2 separate regions of the Homo sapiens genome follow, and region 2 is linked to region 1. Evidence: promoter capture Hi-C in human tissues and cell types (Jung and others, 2019). All regions are on one chromosome and are shown on one strand. The core of a region is centred on a gene start or on the middle of the fragment in contact, and the rest is flanking DNA. Distances in the headings are between cores, read along the strand shown. Region 1 holds the start of STRADA (STE20 related adaptor alpha). Region 2 overlaps MAP3K3 (mitogen-activated protein kinase kinase kinase 3).

What was found. Contacts are between HindIII fragments. The study calls those that stand out against the background at their distance.
Region 2: a contact is called between a fragment that was not itself captured here and the fragment with the promoter of STRADA in region 1, in 3 of the 25 tissues and cell types used here (dorsolateral prefrontal cortex, mesenchymal stem cells and thymus).

The regions. Positions count from the first base shown.
Region 1 is chr17:63,739,950-63,744,551 of GRCh38, forward strand. STRADA (STE20 related adaptor alpha) reads right to left here and starts at 1,850. Exons shown (of 13, transcript NM_001003787.4): 1 at 1,792-1,850. RefSeq lists an enhancer at 1-475 and silencers at 341-509, 2,013-2,132. The HindIII fragment of the contact is 12,282 bases long and covers 1-4,602 here.
Region 2 is chr17:63,629,541-63,634,142 of GRCh38, forward strand. MAP3K3 (mitogen-activated protein kinase kinase kinase 3) reads left to right here. Exons shown (of 16, transcript NM_002401.5): 2 at 3,141-3,262. Among named protein-coding and RNA genes, the nearest start is that of MAP3K3, 9.4 kb to the left of the region's middle. The HindIII fragment of the contact is 6,236 bases long and covers 1-4,602 here.

The DNA of each region.
Region 1 (4,602 bases), core at 600-3,099:
CCAGGCACCCCGCCAGGCAGGTACCTGTTCCTGGTTTCAAACTCCGGAGCTCAAGCAATCCTACTGCCTCAGTCTCTCAAAGTGCTGGGATTACAGAGGTGGGCCACGGTACCCAGCCTATCAGAAACATTTAACACTATATATATATATATATATATACATACATACATATATATATACACATACATATATATATATACACACACACACACACACACACACACACACACACACAACAAAGCAATATTACTAGTGGACAGACATAGAAATAGCTTTATTGGCCGGGCGCGGTGGCTCACGCCTGTAATCCCAGCACTTTGGGAGGTCGAGGCTGGTGGATCACCTGAGGTCAGGACCTCAGAGATCGGCCTGACCAACATGGTGAAACCCCGTCTCTACTGAAAATACAAAAATTAACCAGGTGTGGTGGGGGGTGCCTGTAATGCCAGCTACTCGGAAGGCTGAGGCAGGATAACTGCTTGTACCAAGGAGGCCGAGGTTGCAGTGAGCGGAGATCGCGCCATTGCATTCCAGCCTGGGGGACGAGGGCGAAACTCCATCTCAAAAAAATTAAAATAAAAATAAAGAGAGAAAATAATAAACCCAGCAAACATTTATGGCAAACTTCCTACGTGTCAGGCACTGTGCTAAATGCTTCATGAGCAGCTCACAAGTATTATCATCTCTGTTTTACGGATCAGGAAATTCAGGTGTGCAGGGAGGTTAAATGCCCAAAGTCACACAGATAAGTGGTAGGGGACTAATTAAATCTGTTCCAAAGCCTGCGCTCTAAAAACCAGAGTAAACTTCCTCCATTTCTGGGGCCACAACTATAAACACTGCATTCCAGCCAAAACACCTCTAAGAAATCTGATTAAAAAGTAGGGGACAGATTTGACCAGTTCAGCACTGTAACTAAAGGCTGAATTCACAGGCTTTTGGCAGGTGATCAAATTTGGTTTCTTCCTTAACTCTCAGGGACAAGAAACAGTCCTGGGTGTCTTCAGGAAGGTATGAGTGTCAATGAAGAATTGTCTTAACGTCGCATATACGTATTGGAACATGCTTCTACTTGAACAGATATTACAATAAGAAAAGGGCAAATTCCAACGGCTCTTTCTCCGGGAAAGTCAAGTTAAAGTATGTTAGGATACAGGAGAAGGCTGGGCAGAGAGGTTAGTTCCCTATTTCCTGAGAACTATGAACAATTTTACCTACCCACTGCCCCTCCCTCGAGCTCTCTTCCTTATCCCCAACCCCCATCTCCGGCGCCCAAATCCCCTGCAGGCACCCAAAAAACATTTCTGGAAAACAAAAAGACAATGAGCTCTTCGTTTAGGCCGATTCTGGGAGTCATCTGGATCTTGTGTCCTTACGAGGACTTGACCCGCTGCCTGTCAGCCCAAAGTGCGCGGCGGCTGGGGACAGCGGGGAGCCCAGGACCGGGGTCGGCCGCCACTCTGCCTGAACAGGACAAACCGGCACCCAGCCCTAGGTTCCCCACCTGGAAGTCCTAGGGGGTGGGGAGGAAGGGGAAAGCAGGAGCCCGCCTCTCTCGCCCGGCAACTCCGCTTCAGCGTCTCCCCGCCAGGCCCAAGCCTATTCTGCTCTCGGGCTGCGGCGCCTCATTGCGGGAGTCGAGGACGCGGGTTAAAAAGGGGGCCCGTGGAGGGTGAGGTGAGCCCAGGATGGCCGCTCCGACGAAGGCCCGGGCCTGGGGAGATGGAATCGGTGGCAGAGCCAGGAGGGACTGGCCCCGGCAGCGTACCAGGCACCCCGCCAGGCAGGTACCTGTTCCTGGAGTTAGCAAGCAGCCCCGACCGTCTTGGCTCCGCCTCCTCAGTTTTACTGCCGCGCCGCCGCCAGACCGGTTGCTGGGAGGGGAGTACGCAACGTGCCATGCGCAGTGGGGCGACCGGGAGGACTGATAGAGCGCTCCGCCCCACCCCGCCCTGCGGGGAAGTCCCGCCCTTTCCGAGTGGCCGCGGCTGCGGCAGGCCCTAGCAGCCGCCGCCGCGCCGAGAGCGGTTCTCAGTTCCCGTTGTCTTTCCCGCCGCGCAGCGCTTCCGCCTACAGCCTCCGCCCCCGCAGCAGGAGGGGGAAGCAGGTGGCTTCAACAATGAAGGACCAGAGAAAGGCAAACTTGGCTGTTCCTGAGAATTGTGTTTTTCTCATTTCATGTGGTAGGACTTCTAATGGAAAACCCGCCTCGCACTTTTCTTGGACGACATCTCAAATGCCCCTCACTTTGGCCTCTCGGGCACCAGACAACAAGCTGCAAAGGGGAAGCCCATCCTTTCTTTGCTCCCCACTATTTGTAAAACAAGGAAAATAGCTCAACTAATGAAAACGATCTTGTCCCCTCAGTATCTTTTTTTTTCCCCCGAAGCCTTCCTCATCCACAGCTGAAGCCGTTTGTGGAAACCTATCAGGTTTGTCCAAGCCAGGTTATGCAGAGCTTGAGAAATGAGGAAGCGATGAACTAAGCCTCACTCCTGTGAGACTAGGTTTTTCAGTGACTTATCCCCCGCGTGCGCAGGAGGGGGTATCCAAAACGCGGATATATACCATCAGGTAATGAACACTCGCTCTTGCCAGCTCTGAGCTTTGACACAGATTTAGACCGTCCTAACTTCCAAGACTGGGGGAGGAGTTTAGCTACATCCAAGTAGGGACTTATAGAAATATGCCCCTGGAAGGCCGGGCGCGGTGGCTCACGCCTGTAATCCCAGCACTTTGGGAGGCCGACGCGGGTGGTTCACTAGGTCAGGAGATCGAGACCATCCTGGTTAATACGGCGAAACCCCGTCTCTACTAAAAGTACAAAAAAATTAGCCGGGCGTGGTGACAGGCGCCCGTAATCCCAGCTACTATGGAGGCTGAGGCAGCAGAATGGCCTGAACCCGGGAGGCGGAGCTTGCAGTGTGCAGAGATCGCGTCACTGCACTTCCAGCCTGGGCGACAGAGCGAGACTCCGTCTCAAAAAAAAAAAAAAAAAAAAAGAAAAAAAGAAATATGCCCCTGAAACTGTGGGACCTGTATGCACATGAGTTCTCATTTGATCTTACATACATCACTTTGATTTTTTTTTTTTTTTTTTTTGAGATGGAGTCTTGCTCTGTTGCCCAGGCTGGAATGCAGTGACGTGATCTGGGCTCACTGCAACCTCTGCCTCCTGGGCTCAAGCAATTCTCCTGACTCAGCCTCCCAAGTCGCTGGGACTACAGGCGCACGCCACAACGCCTGGCTGATTTTTGTATTTTTAGTAGAGACGAGGTTTCACCATATTGGTCAGGCTGGTCTTAAAATCCTGACCTCAGGTGATCCACCAGCCTCGGCCTCCCAAAGTGCTGGGATTACAGGTGTGAGCCATCTGTGCTGGGCCACATCATTTTGATTTTATCGAGTGCTTTGACATTGCTAAGGGCTACCCTCACATGCTCTCATTCTCAAAATAAGATGCCACTCTCAGGAGCAAACTTGGTAAACTCACAAAGCAACAGAGTATAAACAGAGAAGTAAAATTTCTAGCAGTGTTCTACTGAAGGGTCTTTCACATGTGGTCTTTTGGAACCGAGTATTAGAGAGACTGTCTGAAAAGATGCTAAACTTCTTGCAGCCATTACAAATGGGTAGAGAAAACATATTGTCTCAGAACTGTTCTGTTTTAGCAGTCTGTAACAGAAGACACTCCTATGGGTATAACTCTTTTTTTTTTTTTTTTTTTGAGACGGAAGTCTTGCTCTATTGCCCAGGCTGGAGTGCAGTGGTGCAATCTTGGTTCACTGCAACCTCTGCCTCCTGGGTTCAAGCGATTCTCCTGCCTCAGCCTCCTGAGTAGCTAGGATTACAGGTTTGTGCCACCGCACCCGGTTAATTTTTGTATTTTTAGTAGAGACGGGGATTTGCCATATTGGCCAGGCTGGTCTTGAACTCCTGACCTCATGTGATCTGCCTGCCTCGGCCTCCCAAAGTGCTGGGATTACAGGCATGAGCCACCGCGCCCGGCCTCTTGTCTCTCTTACATCGTTTCACATCATTCAAAATGAGAGGAGGCAGGAATGGTAAGGAATGAGAACCTGGGATGATAAAGCACAGTGTTTCACCTCTTCCTGCCAAATCCACTGGATTCTTGTACAACACAATTCTAAACAATTCCTACTGAATTGCCAATTCCTACTGAATGGGTGGAATAAGAAATCAATGTTTTTCTTTGGTCTAAATTCCATCTAAAGAAAGGAGTTAGGGCCAGGCGCACTGGCTCACGCCTGTAATCCCAACACTTTGGGAGGCCGAGGTGGGTGGATCACGAGGTCAGGAGATCGAGACCATCCTGGCTAACACAGTGAAATCCCATCTCTACTAAAAATATAAAAAATTAGCAGGGCGTGGTAGCACACATCTGTAGTCCCAGCTACTCTGGAGGCTGAGGTAGGAGAATTGCTTGAACTTGGGAGATGGAGGTTGCAGTGAGCCGAAATTGCACCACTGCACTCCAGCCTGGGCAACACAGTGAGACTCCATCTCAAAAACAAAAAAAAGAGGAGTTTCACATCTGGTCTTTACAGGAAAAGGTTTGCTACTACTAAGGAAACAGAATCA
Region 2 (4,602 bases), core at 1,312-3,811, 110 kb before region 1:
TGTGCATAGTGATGTTGCTTTTTAGAAGGAAAAAAAACAAAAACAAAACCTCAATCCAGGAAGAAATGCCTAAAAGAGCCACTTGATTTACTTCCTGTCTTTATACATGTCCTCTGAAGTATCAGTTGAAGAACCTGTCTACCTCTAGGAATGTATTTTACTTTGACACAAAATTAGATTCTATAACCCTGATTCACTTGTGTCAGTTGTCCCAGATTTCAGATGACAGTGCCAAACTTTTCCACTAGTGTGTTCTCAGCTCTGGAACTACTAAACAAGTTTGTTCATTAAGTAATGCCAGGAATTGGTTAGCTTCCTGGAAACAGAATTTGTCAACCTGATAAACCAGCTCTTATAATAGCGTCATCTTATACAGAATTAGAAATGATTTCTTCAGTCATACTTGTGGATCTGACTTGAAAAGTGGTGTGTGTATGTGTGTGCCTGTATGTGTATTCACATCCATCTTTGTTCAATATCTGAGTTGAAAGAACTGAAAATTCTCAATACTTAGGGTGGTTAATGTTGTTACTGATAACTCCTTGCATTCCGCTTTTAGGAGTATTGTTGGATGCTCCTCAGAAAACACTTAAACCTAGTCATAATCCTCCTTGTATTGATCCCAATTTATTATTACAGTTGGCCCAATTTTATATATATTTAATAATATCTAAGCCATTTAATATATAAACCTATACATATTATATATAAGCCAATCTTCCTAGCTTAGATGTTATGCTCTAGTTTTTAAAGTTTGGTTGTGAGGATAAAAATCAAAACAAAAAACCAAGTTCCCTTTTTGTTTTTGGGACAGGGTCTCACTGTCGCCCAGGCTGAAGTACAGTGGCATGATCATGGCTCACTGCAGCCTCAACCTCCTGGGCTCAAGTGATCCTTCCACCTAAGCCTCTCAAGTAGCTGAGCCTACAGCGTGCACCACCATGCCCAGCTAATTTTTTGTATTTTTTGTAGAATGTAGTTTTGCCATGTTGCCCAGTCTGGTCTCGAACTCCTGGGCTCAAGCAATCCACCTGCCTCAGCCTCCCAAAGTGCTGGGATTACAGGCATGAGCCACCCTGTCCAGCCAGGTTCCCTTCTTTAAAGAAGCTATAGGGAAATTGTAGAAGGTATAAAATAATTGATGGGATATATATGTGTTAATTTGACAGATGTCTTTTTGTAGATACCCACTTTCTCCTCATTCATTATCCCCTTTACTGCATGCTTTCTATATTACAGCTATGTCACTCTCATACATACTTTTGTATATGTTTTGAAGTGGAATCATATGGGAAGTTATGCTCCTGGTGGTTTTCCTGCAAGTTTTAAATCTAATTTTACTTTCCTGAACAAGCAAAAACCTCTTTATAGGCAACTTTGTCCTTTTCTGTACCTCGTCAGAGGGCATATAGGGCACCAGAGCAGATTTCGTCTAGGAAGAGGGGAGAGGCAAATAAGGTGAGGGGCCAGGCACGGTGGCTTATGTCTGTAATCCCAGCATTTTGGGAGGCTAAGGAGGGAGGATCGCTTGAGCTCAGGTGTTTGAAATCAGCCTGGGCAACATGGTGAAACCCTCGCTCAATAAAAAATACAAAAATTAGCAGGGCATGGTGGTGTGCACCTGTAGTCCCAGCTACTCTGGAGGCTGAGGTGGAGGATTGTTTGAGCCTGGGGGTGGAGGAGGCTGCAGTGAGCTGTGATTGCACCACTGCACTCTAGCCTGGGCAACAGAGTGAAACCCTGTTTCAGTCAGTCAGTCAATCAGTTAATCAGTAGTGGGAGAAGAGACTTGAGCAGTTTTACTTCCTACATTTCATGCTGTTCGTTTCTTTCCACAGGGTATTAGAATATTTCCAAGGGACAGTGATAAAGGGTAGAAGATAGGCACTCTCTTTGGGTGGAATCTTTTGTATTTGCTTCTTTTAAGGTGTGCCCCAAGTCCCCAAATGGCTCAGTTGTCACCAAAGCAAGTGTAACAACTCATCCCTCATGTTCCCTTCACGATCAACAGATTTATTCATTTTCAATCTCCAAATGCTATTTGAATGGGCAAAGATCTCTTAAAGGACCTGGGAAAAATTTGTACAACATGGAATTGGACTGGTTTGTGTTCTGGGTTTTGGCCAGTTGTTTTCAATGTATGAGAACTCTAGTACTCCATGCTATTTCAAGAAAAGGGGATTAAAAGTAATGCCAGTAAGGTGGAGACAATGCATTGCTTGGTCAGCTTAGGGAGGAAAAACAATAGAACTACCCTTTGACTTCCCCATGGGAAGTAGTAGGCCTATAAACTTGTAAAGAGTTGTGGGGGTTGCTGGTGGTGGCGGCATTCAAATGCTAGGCTTGTAAAACAACTTCTGTTCAAAGCAGTTACCTGAGGCCCTTATTTGGTACCTTTTAAAGTGTGCTCTCCTCCTTATGATGCTTTAAGAATAAGTCTGGGACTGACACTGTGCCATAATCCTCTCTCTATGGATTCATCTTTTCATTCAGTACCATATTACATTGTACTGTGTTCTTCACTTCAATTTTTCATCTATTTTTCCTGGTTAAGTTTCTCTGGCACTGGACCAACTGCCCTGTTTGAGCGTGTCCCTTCCCTGCAATGAATTGGTAAATATTGCTGCAGGAAATCTGATTGGAGGGCTATTAAGAAACCATTAAAGGCCAGGCATGGTGGCCCACACCTGTATGTAATCTTAGCACTTTGGGAGGCCGAGGCAGGAGGATCACTGGAGTCCAGGAGTTGGAGACCAGCCTGGGCAACATGGGGAGACCCCGTCTCTACAAAAAATAAAAAAATCATCCAGGCATGGTGGTGCATGCCTGTGTTCCCAGCTACTCAGGAGGCTGATGTGGGAAGGTCACTTGAGCCCCAGAGTTGGAGGCTGCAGTGAGCTATGATCACGCCACTGCACTCCAGCCTGAGTGACAGAGCAAGACCTTGTCTCGAAGAAAAAAAAGAATCCATTAAAATTCAAATTGCCATAGTCTGACCTTTTGGGCTGCATCTGATTATAGTTACAGGGTCTGTCATTTTACCTGGGCAGAACTCCCTGAGTATTAGTTATACAGTTTGTGAAAGAGCTTTGCTGGTCTGTATTTAAGTGTCTTAGTCCATGTGCTCTCTTTCATTGCAGACGAACAGGAGGCATTGAACTCAATCATGAACGATCTGGTGGCCCTCCAGATGAACCGACGTCACCGGATGCCTGGATATGAGACCATGAAGAACAAAGACACAGGTCACTCAAATAGGCAGGTGTGTGTGACCCTGGCAGAGCTAAGTGAGATTTGTTGGGGAGGGGTTTTCAAATGGGAAATATACGAAAAGCCAAGGAGACTACATTACCAGGGTTGAATGCTTTTGACCCCTTCCTTTCACAGTCTGTTAAATGGGAAGTAATACATACCAACCAGGTATGGTTAAATGGTAAGTGATATTGGGAGGCCGAGGCAGGCGGATCACCTGAAGTCAGTAGTTTGAGACCAGCCTGGCCAACATGGTGAAACCCTGTCCCTACTAAAAAACACAAAATTAGCCAGGTGTGGTGGTCCATGCCTGTAGTCCCAGCTACTCAGGAAGCTGAGACAGGAGAATCGCTTGAACCTGGAAGGCAAAGGCTGCAGTGAGCCGAGATAGCACCACTGCACTCCAGCCTGGGCAAGACAGAGTGAAACTCTGTCTCAAAAAAAAAAAAAAAGTTATATATGCCATGCAGTTATGGATCTATGATTTGGAGTCTTAAAGCCTTGTGTAAGCATTTCATCTGTTATGGGGACAGTATTCATATTCGTTTTTCCCCTTTACTGATATTTGGCAAATATTTAATTCAGATTCATGATCCCTAAGTCAGAAGGTTTTTAGCTACCTTACAGTATATAGTCAGGAAAAACTAATTAATTTGGTATTAGCTTATGTAAAATATAATTAAGAAGGTAAATTTATTAATTAAAATGTCACCTAGTATATTCTGAAGGCAATAATGAGTGATTTTGTTATTACTGTTTACAGTTATTTTACCTTATTAACCTTATTGATAGTGCCTGTTTTATTGAGAGTTGTATGCTTCTTTAGGAAAACATTGCCTATTTTCCTTAACATTTAAACTTGTGTGTCATTGACAATCTTCTTCTCACCTGTAGTGCCACTTACCTGTTTCCTGGGTACTTTGTTCTGCAGAGAGGAGTGAATGATGGGGAGCTTTCCTACCTAGTGGGTATCCAGTGCTGTGTCAGCTAGCTATATTGGGCATGTTTGATGAAAATTTGTGTATGACATTCTCCCTTTTGGTTCTGTTTGTTATCAGCTAACCTCCTTTCTTCTCATTTGCACCTTGTTTACCAATTCTTCAGAATTGGTTCCTAGAGATAGTATAAGGCCCTAAAACTTTTCCTGTCTGTGGTCTGCTAGATAGAGCCTTCCAGAGTATTTCCTGCCTTTAGGAATCCTAGGGACCCCAAGGGAAGAGGAGTCCTTTTGTTTCATGTTAAAACAGAAGGATTAGTTTAAAAAGCTGCTTTTGTTGTTGTTACCTTATAGTACTGGAGGTATAAACAGATAAGGGCCCATTCTTACACTATTTTCATATGTTATTCAGT